2 separate regions of the Homo sapiens genome follow, and region 2 is linked to region 1. The links are contacts of gene promoters, found by promoter capture Hi-C in blood cells and fetal thymus (Javierre and others, 2016). All regions are on one chromosome and are shown on one strand. Each heading gives the region's core, a stretch centred on a gene start or on the middle of the fragment in contact. The rest is flanking DNA. Distances are from core to core; before and after follow the strand shown.

Region 1 (7,949 bases), core at 2,713-5,212:
TTGACATGACATGAAGTCCCTACGTGTTGTTAGCCATTAATGATGGCATGGTTTTTCTATACCAAGCATTCTATAACAAGAACCCAAGCCTGACAGTTTGATCACAAAGTCACTTATAACATCAGGACTACAAAGCCAGATTTGCTTAAACTTTCCCCAAATTATGATTTTTTATAGATCACATCTGAACAGAAAGGCTTCACTTAAGATCTTGATTCTCCGGAGCTATAATTCATCTTCTTTCTCCAATACCACCCACATTCTTAAAGGTTATTTAGCTTTTCTCCACAAGGATACGTAGAATGGATCTTTTTCCCCTCCAGAAATAATTTCCCCAGGAAAGAATTGTAAAACCAACTTAAAAACACAAAATAACCTTACGTTTTTCCACCAACAATGATCAGACCTCCCACTCCTCTGACTTGAGCTTCAGAGCCCTTTGTGTATACTTTTCACACATTCCTCATACCATTAACACAGCTTTCCATCACCATCAGCCATCCTTCCTCAACTTTTCCTTGCCCAACATGAAAGCTAGTGGATTGAGAGGGAAGGAAGAAGGGAACTGAAAAAGTATTACCTTTATAAAAATAGTTTTCAACCTGTTACTTGATCCTTCAAAGCCAAATTGGGTAGCATCATCTGTACAGACCCCAACACTAAATTCTCAAGTGTCTTTCTTTTCCATAGCCAGGTCTCAAAAGCTCAAATCTAAACCTACTGATGGAGTAGCAAAGGCTTCCTAAAATTGAGCAATACAGACCTAGGATTGCATGGGGGAATATGACAAGTCAAGACCAGTTACATTGTTGCTTAATTCATCGATAAGAGGCCAAGTTCTCCATTCTCCCCCAGCTCTGCCACTCTGGGAAGAGCCCACTAGCCAGCCTCGGACTGCCAAAGATTGTTGACTCTAACTCTGTCTTAGGAGACGTCTGGTGGAATGCACAGTCCTGGGGTGCCATCTGTGTCTGCACCCCATCAGGCTTCCATTGAACATGAACAATTCTATAATTCTGACCATCATTGTTGTCCCAAAAGACTTGCCCATTAGCATGGTAAGAAATGCAGAACTCAATTTTCTGCTCAGTTGGAATGACAGGGGGTAAGTCAATGGCAAATGAGAAGGTATCACTATCTGTGCCACCATACACATTTTTCATATAGACACAGTCTACGTCAGTGTAGTTTTTCCAAGAATCGAAAGTGATACGGATCTGAACTTTCTTCTCAAAACTCACATTTTTGACTTTAACAGTCCCTGTCACTGTTCGCTCTTGCAACGAGCAGTTCTCCAGACAGACAAAGTTCTTCTGAAAGTGGCTCCGGAAACTTAAGTAATCGGTTGAAGGCTGAGGGAAATCTAAAATCAAGTTTTTCTCCTCGTGGTGTTTTAAGGCAGAGGAGATATCATTAAGGTCCAAGAGATCAAACTGCAGATCCCACGCTGGTTCTTCTGGGAGGTCGGAGAAGACATGGATCGCAGTGAGAGAGAGGCCCTTGGAGTCAGCAAACACAACGCGCTTCTTGGCTTGGTTGTGTGAGCACTTCCAGTCATTCTGTGATTTGGCTTTGTGTTTTATATTGAGACATGATTTCAGGGGCTTTAATTTATTCACAAAATGTCGTCGTTGAAATTCATCGTACGGGCCCAGGAAACTCTTCACAGGTGGTGAATGTGCCAAGCAAAGCCTCATGGCCACATCCACGGGCATGACCGAACTTGTCAAAGGACGTGGATCTAAAACCTGGATCATTCTGGAATGCAAAAAGAAGAGGGATTATCACCTGGATCGGAAATGCTCTTCCCCAGTGCCAAATACATATGTACTATTTTTGTGCTGACTGAATTATAGCCAGTGCACTAGATATCAGGCAGGTGCTATCATATGTAGTAAAAGAGAACAGTATTAAGTGATCAGATCTTCTATGTCTACCTCTACCCTTGGCCGGCTAAAGGCTATTAATTGCTTAAAACACTTAGAGGGTGATGGGGGTCTCAGTTTCCCCATCTGAGAAATAAAAGGGTTCGATTTGATTATCTCCAAGGCAGCCTTGAGAACTGTGTGCTCTGTTCTGGACCAGTGGTCCTCAAACCTGTCTGGTCACTATGTCTAGGGAATTCATTTTCTTTCTTTCTTGTCTTTCCTCCTTTCCTCCTTCCCTCCTTCCTTCCTTTCTTCCTCTCTCTCTCTCTTTCTCTTTCTTCTTTCTTTCCAATTCCTGGGACTCAGAACTACTGAGGCAGAACTTCTGGGGCTAGGGCCAAGGGATGGGTATGTTCTTAAAGCTTCCCAGGTGATTCTAATGACCAGACAGGTTCAGGAGCCACAGTTCCAGACCCTCTGCTCCCTCTGGCTACGTTGGCTTATTTTGCTGCTAAATTGATTGACACTTCTCTGGTAAGGTAATTCACTTGAAAAAAAAAAAATAACATGCAACAGTTTTGAGAGTGAGAAGGCTAGAGAAGAAGTCAAAGAATCATCTTTGCACTTTGATTATCATGCTCTTATTTTTCACAAATAACCACTGAAATACAAGCCAACAATTCATATGCACTTAAAAACTATATAATTGATAATTCACCTAAAGAGATGCCCATGACAAGTCCACATTTAAGTGGAAAAACTGATTACCTGAAAGTTGGAGTGTTTTAAAATATACATTTTATATATACAAACTTATAAATATTGAAAAACTCTATAGGAAATACACCTTTCCTAATAATTTAATAATTATTATTTCTGGGTGATAGGATTATAGATTATCTATTTTCGTTTTTGTTCTTTTTTGGCATTTTCTAATAGACATTTATAAGTAGAAAGACAATAAAACCATTTAAAGTTTTAAACATGACTATGCTCAGCAATATTAAACCAAGAAGCATCTATAAAGAAGACTTTTCTCTGACCTTTAGCCCTCATCATATATTTCCAAGCTTATGGTATTAAGATTTTTTTCCCTATCTTAGCCTTACAAGTAAGAGGTGTGTGTATACTGTACACGACATTTCTCAGTCTGGCTTTAGTAACTCTCCTCACAGCAGCTCTAAACATGTATGCAAGTGGTCATTATCACAAAAGTGTGTAATAACACTCGCAGAATTTACTGTGTTAGCTCTGGGGTTTTTCTGGGAGATCTGCAAACTTAGAACAAACAAATGAAAGCTAAAGCTATATTTGTGGGTCTAATAATAGTTAATAGGCAGGATTTTTAGAGAAGTCTTCTGCTAAGCTATGTCTGGAGAAGCTATTTAAAGTAGTTTTATGGGAGGTTTTTTTTGGTTTTTTTGTTTTTTTTTTTTTACTTTTTGCATTTATAGAAAGACAGTTTTAGTTTGGGTGATTTCCTTGGAACTTTAAGTCCTGGACAAGAGTTAAAAGTAATCGTTTGCTCAAACTCTTGAGATTTTGCTATGGCAAACTGTGATAAGAAGGACGAATGAATGCAAACGTCGTCCTGTAATTTTTTTCCTCCAAGCTAAACCACCTAACCAGCAATGTCAGAGTGCTGTTCTCACCACTTCAGCTGCCCGAGTCTTTGGGACATTTGTGCAGGACCAAAAGAACAGCCGCATCCATGAGAAAATCCTAACTCAAGCTGATTCACGTTAAGATAATTTCTGCTTTAAGATGCTGATTACTAAAATAGGCTCTGCTTAAGAAATAGAGCCAAATTTCTACACCTCCAAGGCCTCTCGGTTGCCAGATTCAACTACGCAGTCAGTCCACTTGTCCTCCCCCTGGGGTGTCCATTTCCAGAGATGATAGAACTGAAACGCCCCCCAACTTCCCCACAGCTGCGCGTTCCCCTGTGTTCCTAGCGCGCAGAGTTGCAGCGAACCTACCTGGTGCAGCTCATTAGGCAGAGAGGCGGCGGACCCTAAAAGCCAGCACCCGCTGCCTGCACAAATTCGAACCACAGCTCCAGGCCTTGCCCCCGCGGCGGTCGCTGGGAGAGACTGAGGGCCCGGCGCCTAGAGGCCGCTTATCTGCTCCCAAGCACGTGACCCGATCCCTGGGACCAATCGCCGGGCCTCGAGCCCCAGGGCGCGACCAACCAGCGCCCAGCTGGGGCGCCAGCCCTCGCCCCGGCAACGTGATCGCCCCGGGGCGAGACGTGCAGAGAGCTATCTGGGCATCGCGGGGAGGTTCTGGGACTCCGCGGCCAGCTGGAACCAGCCGCGTAACGGGAACCCTGGGCTAGGGGCCGGGCAGGCACGTACCGCATGCAGCGGGCGCCGGCCAAGAGAGAGCGCAGCCAGCCTCGCCCAGGCGGGGCGCCAGTGCCTCAGGCTTGGGGCGGCTGTTACTTGGGAATAGCTTTGTGGGTCACTGCGGGTGAATCTGCACACAGAAGATGTGGCTCAAACCGAATGTGTATCGCATTTGAAATGTTTATATCGTTCATTACCCGGTGTATCCGCATTTCTCCCTCACCTTAGCCTGCGCGATCCCAAACTGGCTGCATGCTTTTCGATTAGTATGAGTTCACAGATGCACCACACAGTAGACAGCTGCCGGGAATTACCAACTTATCTAACAAATGTTGTTAGGAAAGCATACGAGCCCCATAAAACACCAAGGTGGCATTTAATTAAAAGACACTTCGTATTTCTGTCTATTCTTCAATTTTCTCCCCTGCGGGGAACACTAAAGCCGGAAGTGAAATGACCCTTTTCACACATACAGCCGGTCAAGAGGCAGCAGTCAACCCAAACCCCTTACTCAATTCTGACGTCCTTTGGCAGTGGTGTGGAAATCAAAATGTTAAAATAAAATTTAAAAAATCACGCCGTATGTTTCATGGGCCTTCTGAGCCACTCACTTTCGCTGAAGTTTCATTATTTTGATTAGTTTGAAGAATTTTTAGACCATCATTTACAACTGTAAAATTAAATGTCTAAGTCAAGTCTAAATTATTTTTATAAAACCCACATCCTAGTTTTGCTCCCCTAATTGAGCTATCCATTAGTCAATTAAAATATACAAAAATTCCTATGTCTTTTAAACAACTGTCAAACAGTGGAATTGTTAAAATTATTAGAGTGAAGAAAAAAATCACACTGAATATCACTGGGAAAGGGACTTCATGCCTGGGTTTTATTTTTGAAATGAAATATCTAACTAATGGCAGGTCTTCTAGCCCCTTTAGCTCAACCAAAACTAGCTGGAAGGTCTTTGGATTGACACTTACTAGCTACACGAATCTAGGCAAGTTCTAACCTCAGTTTCCTCATGTGTAAAACAGAGATAGTAACGTTCTGAAGATGAAGTAAGATGGTGCCAATGAACAGACTCAGCACGATGCCCAGTGCCTGTGTTCCACCCGGGCTAGTTCCCAAGTTTCTACTTGATCTCTCAGCTAGAGTTTTTACTCTATCACCTCAAGGCGCCTGGTGCCTGAGCTAAAATATTGAGAATAGCTGCTGCTTGTTGAGCCTTTACTCTGTGCCAAACACTATGTGCTATCAATTCAATCCTCACAACAACCCTATGTGATATGTCCAATTATTAATCCCATTTTAGAGAAAAGAAAACGGAGACACTGAATGGTCAGGAAATCTGCCCAGTGGATCACTTGAGGCCAGGAGTTCAAGACCAGCCTGGCCAACATGGTGAAACCCTATCTCTACTAAAAATACAAAAATTAGCCGGGCATGGTGGTGCACACCTGTACTCTCAGCTACTCTGGAGGCTGAGGCAGGAGAATCGCTTGAACCCGGGAGGCGGAGGTTGCAGTGAGCTGAGATTGCACCACTGCACTCCAGCCTGGGCAACAGAGCGAGACTCTATCTCGAAAACAAAAAACAAAAAAAAAACCTGCCCAGGTTCTCACAGGTAGAGCAGGGATTAGAGCCTGGCTGATACCAGAGCAATAACCGCTGCACCATATTGTCTTATTTTAATGACCCATCAATGGTTAGAATTATGGAGGTAGGAGGTGATAGGCATCAAACTCTTTATTTCACAGATGAGGAACTGAAAGCTTAGACAGGTCAAGCTGCTTGCCAGGGGCTGGCTAGGTCTGAGCCAAAACTAGAACCCTGGGTATTCTTTTCCTCTACCCATGATTATATGTTGAGCTAAATAGTAAATATTACCAGTTAAAACTATGGAGAAACATGAATAACAATTTATGGTGATCGCATTTTGAGGGAAAGGTATCCATGCATAGAAAACAGAATGTGCTCTACAGAAATGTGAACAGTTCATTTTGGAATGGTGAGATTATGAGTGATTAAAAATGTCTTCGTTGTTTTGCTGCTCTGTTGTTTTTCTTAATTTTTCTACAATGAACATACACGACCTAATTAAGAAATAATTTTTCAAGGGCGTTAAAACTCTGGGATTCAACTAACACATATAGCGTACTGCTAGGTGCCAAGAACCGTGGTGGAAATTTTCACATGCTTGTGCCATTTACTCACACCACCCTTTCAGCCTGTTCCATTCATACAGCTTTCTCTCCTGCCCCCTGGTGTTGACTAATGCCATAGAAGTCACTCTCCCTTTCAGCTCCTTCAAATGGAAGATTCAGGGAGACCATGCTTTCTCCTAAAAGGACTCAACACTCACTCAATAAACCTCTAAATTGGATGATCCAGGCTTTTCACTTCTGTCTCCTTCCCAGCTTTTGCTCCCCTTCATTATTGGATGAGAGAAACTAGGATGGAATCAGTGTTCTTAGTTGTAGGTTGCACCAATGAAGACAGAGTAGAAAGGAATCGTGGGGAGTTGTACTATTATTCGTAGGATTTCTCCCACTGTGGTTTGGCAGCATCTAAACATTGCTTGGTCCTACCCATCTTAACAATCAATCTATCAGCAGGAAATTATTGAGCTATGCAGTAGTTCCAGCTCCATGCCAGGGGTTACAAAGTCTGAGCAGTCATAATCCTTTGACCTTGAGGAGGTTACAATCATTATTACAGAAAAACAAATTCATAGAATACCCAGCAGACATTTTAAGAAGCTACTAAGCAAGGAGCTGATAATTGTGGGGCTTACACAAGTGGGTCTCTTACAGCATTCACTCAACACGTTGCCTGAGAGCTGCCTTTGGAAAAACACCCTGGGGGGTTGCCAAGTTGCCAACTCATTTTCTGCAAGCTTGTCTTTTTTCAGTGCCTAATCAAGAAAGTACTTGAGAATTCAGCCTCATAGTTATTAATATAAAAATGTCAGTACTTTAACCACAGTTAGTGGTAACTGAGAGAAACCTCGTAAGTGATCTTGAAGATCACTTACGGAGTTTCAGTGAAAGAGTCAGGGAAGTTGCGAACTGGTTTTTTTTTTTTTTAATTATTATTAAAAGGAGCAGGTTTTGCATTTTGGAGAACAAAAAAGGTGCCAATTCATTTGTCTCAGTTAATAGTAAGCGCTCTTGTACACTATTTTCTTCTTCCTTCTTTAGCTACATTCAACAGGAACTCCAATATTAAGTAAAAGGATACAACCTGAAAAACATATACTGCTTACTTTGGGCTCGGCACTGTTTTAAGCACTTAGAAATATTAACTCATGTAATCTTTATAAGAATCCGGTGAGGTAGAAACCCATTTCACAGATGAGGAACGTGAAGACATCGAAGGTGCCAATTGTCCAAGATCACACAGCTAGTAGGTGACAGGATCAGGTTTCAAGCCCCTCTAGAATCCACGCTCCTAGTATGTGAGTTGCTCTGAAAAAGACAAGCACCACACTGGTAGCTACCAAGACCAAAAAGCAGCTCCGAAGGCCAAAGAGATCCCGAAAGGAGAAGGCTCGCTGTGGAATATCTGTGGAAGCTTCAAGGAGGTAGCGGGAATTGGGAAGGCCAGGAAAATGGGAAGAACTTAAATATGATGTGCTATCATCTTTAGGGCATTTAGATGACTAGAATACAACTTTGTGGCTCAGCAAATAAGAGAGCAAATAAGATCACCATTGAAACGGTGCCAGCCACCC
Region 2 (7,949 bases), core at 1,446-3,945, 71 kb before region 1:
CATCCAATCAATTGAAGGCCTGGATAGAACAAAAAGATTGAGTAAAAGGAATTCCTCCCACTTGACTGCTGGAGCTGAGATATTAGTCTTTTCTAACCTTCAGTCTTATACCAAAACATCAGCTCGTCTTGGGTTTCAAGCCTGCTGGCTTTTGGACTGGATCTTACACCATCAGCTCTCATGGTTCTCAGCCCTTTGGACTCAGACTGCAACTGGACATTGGCTCTCCTGGGTCTGCAACTTGCAGACTGCAGATCTGGACTTTTTCAACCTGTAATTCTTTAAGATGAGTAAACAAGTAAGTACATAAAAACATAACTTATTGATTCTGTTTCTGTTCTCTGAAGAACAGAGCCAGTAGTCTGTTTCTGACTAATACACACTATATTAACGTTCCTCAGATCTTAAGTTCCTCCAAACACTTTGGAAAATGCCGGAAAGCTTTCTTAGGTAGAGGCCAAATTTTCTCATATAGCATTCAAAGCCTGTTATGCTTTGGTTCCCTACTCTTTTCTAGTCTCATGTACTGTTCTAGCAAACAAAATGTTATTTCAGACTCTTGCGCTTTTACATGTACTAGTCTCTCTGCTAGTTGCCCCTTTCCCATCTATCAAATGTGGAAACATGGGAAAGTTACTTAAGCTCTGTGCCTCAGTTTCCTTTCCAGAAAATAGAGATCATAGAAATAACTACCTCATTGGTTATTATGAGGATTAAATGCCTGCATGAACTTTGAACAGTTCCTGACACACGGTAAGTGCTAAATACACGTTAGAGATCATTCTGCAATCCCACTGCACTTTGTGCATCCCTCAATGAAAACACACTCCATGCAGTAATAAATGATTTTCTTGTACATGTATCTCTCCAACTAAATCACAAAGTCTTCAAAGACAGGAATATCATATTGTTCCTCTTTGATTCTCCCAAGTTTAGCACAATATGTGGTTCTTGGCTATGATCAACAAGTGCTTGGTGAATGAATGGCTGAATGATCTTCACACCTAAAGAAACTAAAATTCCAACAAGGTGAAATAAGTTGCACGTCACATAGACAGACAAGAAATGCCAGCACTTGGAATCCGGGTATCCCAGTTTCTGAAACCAGGAGCTCCATTTACCACCTAGAAATTGCTTCCCACTTGGTGACAGCATTCTTGTAATTCAATTCAACAAGTCTTTCTTAAGCACTTACTATGCATCAGACCTGGGGACTGGGGATGACGAAAATTCAATCCATGCCCTCGAGGCATCAGGCAGCCATCCCCTGGACCTAAACCTCCAGCTGGCCTCCCTGCCTCCAGACCCCTACCCCTGCCACTCATTCTTCAAGGCACCATCAGAATTACTGCTTGGGCTTACATGCCCTAAAAGCCATAGCCTCTGGGAATAATGCCCACATTTCTGGTCTGCCACCACCATAACCCATCCATAATCTAACTTCATTGTATTAGTCCATTCTCACACTGGTATAAGGACATACTGAGACTGGGAAATTTATAAAGGAAAGGGGTTTAATTGACTCACAGTTCTGCAGGGCTGGGCGGGGGTGGACCTCAGGAAACTTACAATCATGGTGGAAAAGGAAGCAAACACATCCTTCTCTACAAGACGGCAACAAGGAGAAGTGCAGAGTGAAGTGGGGGAAAACCCCTTATAAAACCATCAGATCTCATGAGAACTCACTCACTGTCATGAGAACAGCATGGAGGTAACCGCCCCCATGATTCCACTACCTCCCACCAGGTCCCTCCCACGACATATGGGGATTATGGGAACTACAGTTCAAGATGAGATTTGAGTGGGAACATAGCCAAACCACATCATTCCTCCCCTGACCGCTCCCACATCTCATGTCCTCACATTTCAAAACACAATCATGCCTTCCCAACAGTCCCCCAAATTCTTAAGTCATTCCAGCATTAACTCAAAAGTCTAAGTCCAAAGTCTCCTCTGAAACAAGGCAAGTCCCTTCTGCCTATGAGTCTGCAAAATCAAAAGCAAGTTAGTTACTTCCTAGATAACAATAGTGTTACAGGCATTGGGTAAATACACCCATTCCAAATGGGAGAAATTGGCCAAAATGAAGGGGCTACAAGCCCCATGCAAGTCCAAAATCCAATGGGGCAGTCAAATCTTAAAGCTCCAAAACGATCTCCTTTGACTCCATGTCTCACCTCCAGGTCACGTGAGATGCAAGAGGTGGCCTCCCATGGCCTTGGGCAGCTCCACCCCTGTGGCTTTGCAGAGTACAGCCCCCCCTCCCAGCTGCTTTCATGGCTGGCGTTGAGTGTCTGCAGCTTTTCCAGGCGCATGATGCAAGCTGTTAGTGGATCTACCATTCTGGGGTCTGGAGGACGATGGTCCTCTTATTACAGCTCCAATGGGCAGTGCCCCAGTGGGGACTCTGTATGGGGGCTCTGATCCCACATTTCCCTTCCGCACTGCCCTAGCAGAGGTTCTCCATTAGGGCTCCACCCCTGGAGCACACCTCTGCCCGGACATCCAGGTGTTTCCATACACCCTCTAAAATCTAAGCAGAGGTTCCCAAACCTCAGTCCTTGACTTCTGTGCACACACAGGCCCAACACCCTGTGGAAGCTGCCAAGGCTTGGGGTTTGCACCCTCTGGAGCAATGGCCTCAGCTGTATGTTGGCCCCTTTTAGCCACACTGGGACAGGGCACCAAGTCCCAAGACTGCACAAAGCAGCAAGGCCCTGGGCCTGGCCCAAGAAACCATTTTTTCCTCCAGGGCTGTGATGGGAGGGGCTGCCGTGAGGATCTTTGACATGCTCTAGAGACATTTTCTCCATTGTCTTGGTGATTAACATTTGGCTCCTCATTACTTATGCAAATTTCTGTAGCCAGCTTGAATTTCTCCCCAGAAAATGGGTTTTTTTCTTTTCTACTGCACCATTGGGCTGCAAATTTTCCACTTTTATGCTCTGTAACCTCTTGAATGCTTTGCTGCTTAGAAATTTCTTCTGCCAGATACCCTAAGTCATCTTTCTCAAGTTCAAAGTTCCAAAGGTCTTTAGAACAGGGGCAAAATTCCACCAGTCTCTTTGCATAGCAAAAGTGACCTTTACTCCAGTTCCCAACAAGTTTCTCATCTCCATCTGAGACCACCTCAGCCTGGAGTTTAGTGTCCATATCACTATTAGCATTTTGGTCAAAGCCATTCAACAAATCTCTAAGAAGTTCCAAACTTTACCACATCTTCTTGTCTTCTGAGCCCCTTCAAGTCTCTAGGAAGTTCCAAACTTTCCCACATGTTCCTGTCTTCTTCTGAGCCCTCCCAACTGTTCTAGCCTCTGCCTGTTACACAGTTCCAAAGTCACTTTCACATTTTCAGGTATCTTTACAGCAGCACCCCACTACCTGCTACCAATTTACTGTATTAGTCTGTTCTCACACTTCTATAAAGACATACCCAAGACTGGGTAATTTTGAAAGAAAAGAGGTTTAATTTTCTCTGCCGGGCTGTGGAGGAGGCAGACTCAGGAAACTTACAAACATGGCAGAAAAGGAAACAAAAACATCCTTCTTCACATGGCAGCAGCAAGGAGAAGTGCAGAGCAAAAGGGGGGAAACCCCTTATAAAGCCATCAGATCTCATGAAAACTTGCTCACTATCACAAGAACAGCATGGAGGTAACTGCCCCCATAATTCAATTACCTCCCACTGGGTCTCTCCTATGACACATGGGGATTTTGGAAACTACAGTTCAAGATGAGATTTGGGTAGGGACACAGTCAAACCATATCATTCGTTTACCCACACAAGCTCATATCTGACCATCTGACCACTGCCAACTTGACCCTTCTCACTGTGGGTCCCTCACAAACCACACAGCAGACTTATTTCCATCTCCACCCCTCTGCTCATTTGGTGCCTCCTGTGTGACAAAGTTCCTTTGTTTCTCAACCTGTAATTGGTATGACCTACTTCACTAGCTTGGGATACAAACATAGTCACACTTTGTTTTTCAGTTCACTTTTGGAGGTCCTATATGTGCCTATTAGAACTATGTTTCCCTCTTTCTGTTCTCTCAAAATTGTATAAGAATTCCAGGGACTTCTTTTTGTCAAATGAAATGACAACTTAAAAATCTAATCTGGTCACTACTGCCATTGCTTCCTGCTGCCTCATGCAGTTGAAGCCCTGCCTTTGCTAGCTTAGGACATTTGTCTGCCCTGTGGTTATGCCCTTGGCCCGGGTCCTGACCCAGTTTGCAGGTTTCAGCTCCTCTAATCACACCTGTATGCTATGCCATGTGCCCAGAGCTTGATGCTGGTGGCTCCCACAATCATCATTAGGGTTTGGGTTAAGCCCAAGTCACAAAGCCAGACACCCTTTTCCCCCACAGTAACTCCCACTCTGAAGACATTAGAGTAATTTTCTGCCAATCATTCCAAGGTCTTGGCTACCCCAGGATACACTCGTGACATTCCTCTCACTTCCAAACTCCATAAAAGGAGCCTGTGCTCCTGTACTTTCCTACCCAGAAAAATCCTGAGCCTCTTATGCAAGTCAACCCAACTTCTGCACACTGCAAACCAAAGGGAGAAGCAGTTGCTGTTAAGCCACAAAAGAAAGTAAGTCCCCATTACATCTTTTTCCCAGACCAATAGGTGTCTTCTTATATTTGCTTAACTAAGAGACACCATTTGAGCAACTCTTCATAAACCAAGGTAACCCAGTGTGTCCATCTTCTCAAAGGAATGCTGGCAGTTTCTACTCTAAGTTGTGGTTTCTGTAGGTTGTTTCCTACACAGTAATTTATTGCACAGCAATCTCAGGTTCAAGGTCTAGAGAAAGTCCACAATAATATCTCTTCTAAAATTCCTATAGCATTTATATATATAGTCCATATCTCAATTTGTTCATTTATTGAACAAATACTTATTGAGCACCAATTATGTACCAGGTCCAGGCAATGGGTATGCAAAGCTTAAAAGGCCACAGCCTCTGTCTCCAGAGCCTGCCAAGCTAGAGGATTCTATATTGGTCTATGTTAGTCAGTGTGACAGTTGCCAGTGCGCTGGGCCTGCAGCTAGAACACTAGAAGGCCAGGCGGCACAGGGCACTGCAGTACCCCACTTGCCCTCTTACAGTTAATCTGGTGGATGATAAATAAGGTTGCAACTTTATTCAAATTGCAGCGCAAGCTCTGCCTTCATTACTGTTACCTCTTTCTGCTCTCTAGCCAGTTACCACCTCTTCCATTTGAAAGGACTATGAAAACGGGTCTCCTGCCTTCCTACAGAAGTACTAGCAAGTTGGCCGGGCATTGTGGCTCACCCCTATAATCCCAGCACCTTGGAAGGCCGAGGCAGGAGGACAACATGAGCCCAAGAGTTCGAGACAAGCCTGGGCAACACAGTGAGACACTGTCTCCACTAAAAAAAAAAAAAAAATAGCCAGGCACGGTGGCACATGCCTGTAGTCTCAGCTACTCAAGAGGTTCAGGCAGCAGGATTGCTTGAGCCCAGGTGTTGGAGGCTGCAGTGAGCTATAATTATGCCACTGAGCTCCAGGCTGGGGAACAGAAAAGACCTTATCTCAAAAAAGACAGAAGTACTTGCAAGTGATAAAGCTGAAAGCATCTTAGCTGAGACATGCACACTAAGGATTGGGTTGGATTTCTGAAAAGTATGTAACCTGATATATTCGTCAAAAAATTAATTCAATTCCATAAATACAGCAACTGCTGTATTTATACAGCAACTGCTATATGACGTGGTAAGTAGTCAGGTTCAATTAACACTGTGGATTTTTCCTGTTTTTGCTGAGACTAACAATAATCTTAATATACAATTGTTTTATAAACATAAATTCCTCTTTGAATGAAGAAGTAAAAGAAAAAAGTATGTCTGGGAGTAAGTGGGTACCTGCCTGTAGAAAAGATAACTATTTTAAGTTGAGTGAGAAGGGGAGATACTCAACATCAGTAAAATATTCCCCTGGCTTAAGGTGGCCTTGGTTGAGGAAATATTACAGATTTCCAAGTGAGTGAGTACAGAATCCAGGAGAAGGAACCAATAGCACTTAGTGACTGCGGAAGACCTGAACTTGAGCTCCAGCCAGAGAAGACTCAGTTTCACCATAAGCTGGAGCTGAGCAAACTCGCTGGCCAGACTGGGAAATGAGTAGAATGCATACAGCTGGGCCAAGCTAGACTTTGGCACATGCCTGCAAATTGCCTTTCTGCACATCACATATACCCTGAAATTCCTCACAGGGTTGTAAAATTTAGCTCTGGGTCATATGCTTTAGAAGAGTCACTGCAAAACTAGTTTAAGGGGGATGGAGGAACAAGGAGCCATGTCTTAGCTCTTAGGTCACAGACTAAAGAAGGAAAAGGCCTACTTTCCTTTAGTGACTGGAAGTGGGACTGACCAATGGTGAAAGAGGTAGCCTCCCATTTGAGGGTGTCCTGGGTAATGTTATCATCAAAGAACTGACCCAGAGCTAACATCAGAATCCTGTGTCTAGCAGAGGGAACACAAGGTCTCTTATAAGGAGCCAGTTGGGAGGGGAAGCTAAATTATACTGCCCACCTTGGTGGGCTCCCAGCCAGCAGGGGAGGGCTGCAGCCTGGCTCTCCTCTTAGTGAGAGGTCCCCCCAGTTCCTTCCTGGGGCTGAGTTGGCTGGCATCTGTGGGCTGAGAGTGAGACCTTTGAAGCAATGCACAGTTCTGAAATCTTAGCTTGCTGTCAAGGTGGTCCCTGCAAAGGATACCTGGAGCAAGGACTGGCTAAGGGCGTGTTGACGCCAAGCTTCCACGGAACCCAGACAATGAAGGGAGAGGACACTTTTGTCCATAGACATCATCTGGGGAGTCAGGATGGTCCAGTTTTTCAAGCCATTCATGGAATTAAAAGAGAAATGTCTTGGGAGTGATTGGTGGGTGGTTCTAAGGATAAGAGATCACAGCATTAGGAGAAGAAGGGTTAAGAAGTAATCATTATTGATTGTCTACAATGCGGTGGCTATTTTATATACACATTATCTCTCTTAATTCTGACAAAATTCTATAAAGGGAAATGTGACCTTTTTCATTGGACAAATAAGGAAGCAGATTCAGAGAGAGAAAGTGAGCTGCCCACGCATGCTAGCCGGTGACAGGGTCAGGATGCAAAGCCTTCTCTTGCTTTCAGCATGGCCCATGTTTTTCCCAACAACAAAAAAAAAGATATTAAATACCTGCTATGACCACAGCATAGAGCTGGGCCCTGTGGGCACACACAAATAGGTTCCTGCCTCACAGGCTAAAGGGAGAAGCAAGACCTATGATTATAGTGGCTGTAAACTACTAGCAGTTAATCAATATTAACAACTCTTCAACCTCTCACACCCTTCTCCCCTTGGTCACTAGTCTGACTAGACTGGCCTTCTTTTTGTGTGTGTGTTTGTTTGTTTGTTTGTTTGTTTGTTTGTTTGTTTTGAGACAGGGTCTTGCTGTGTTGCCCAAGCTGGTCTCAAACTCCTGGGCTCAAGTGATCCTCCTGCCTCAGCCTCTTGAGTAGCTGAGATTACAGGCGTGAACCACTGCACCCAGCTAGACTGACCTTCCTGCAGCTCCACACAAGTCTAGCTCATTCCTGCCTCGGATTCTCTGCATCAGCCCCTCCCTCTGCCGACTATGACCTTCCCAGCTTCATGTCACCATCTCAGAGTCCTTCCCTAGCCTCCCTTACCCGCTATGGGTACACCCCTCAGCCTCTCCTCTTTCCTGGCTTTATTTTCTTCCTAACACTTAAGAGCAAGCTTTGATGTCTAATTGTCTGTCGGGATCCAAGGCCTGGCTTCAACACTTTCTAGCTGTGTGATCTGGGACAAATTACTAACTCCCTGAGCTTCCGCTTCATATTTGTAAGCAGGTAATAATTTTATGTAGCTCAAGGGATTTTTGTGAGGACAAAAATAGAATAATTCATGAAA

Evidence for each region. The method cuts DNA at HindIII sites, captures the fragments that hold promoters and counts their contacts. A CHiCAGO score of 5 or more calls a contact.
Region 2: a fragment that was not itself captured here is called in contact with the fragment with the promoter of PPP1R3C in region 1 in 1 of 17 cell types (endothelial precursors); the score reaches 8.0 in endothelial precursors.

The regions. Positions count from the first base shown.
Region 1 is chr10:91,629,109-91,637,057 of GRCh38, forward strand. It overlaps PPP1R3C (protein phosphatase 1 regulatory subunit 3C), which reads right to left and starts at 3,963. Exons shown (of 2, transcript NM_005398.7): 1 at 3,848-3,963; 2 at 1-1,758. The coding sequence starts at 3,861. The coding sequence ends at 819. RefSeq lists enhancers at 3,594-4,095, 4,096-4,595 and a silencer at 3,930-4,069. The HindIII fragment of the contact is 3,050 bases long and covers 2,937-5,986 here.
Region 2 is chr10:91,559,179-91,567,127 of GRCh38, forward strand. All of the region lies in intron 1 of HECTD2-AS1 (HECTD2 antisense RNA 1), which reads right to left. The region is part of intron 2 of LOC105378433 (a long non-coding RNA gene); the gene reads left to right. Among named protein-coding and RNA genes, the nearest start is that of HECTD2-AS1, 48 kb to the right of the region's middle. The HindIII fragment of the contact is 4,513 bases long and covers 440-4,952 here.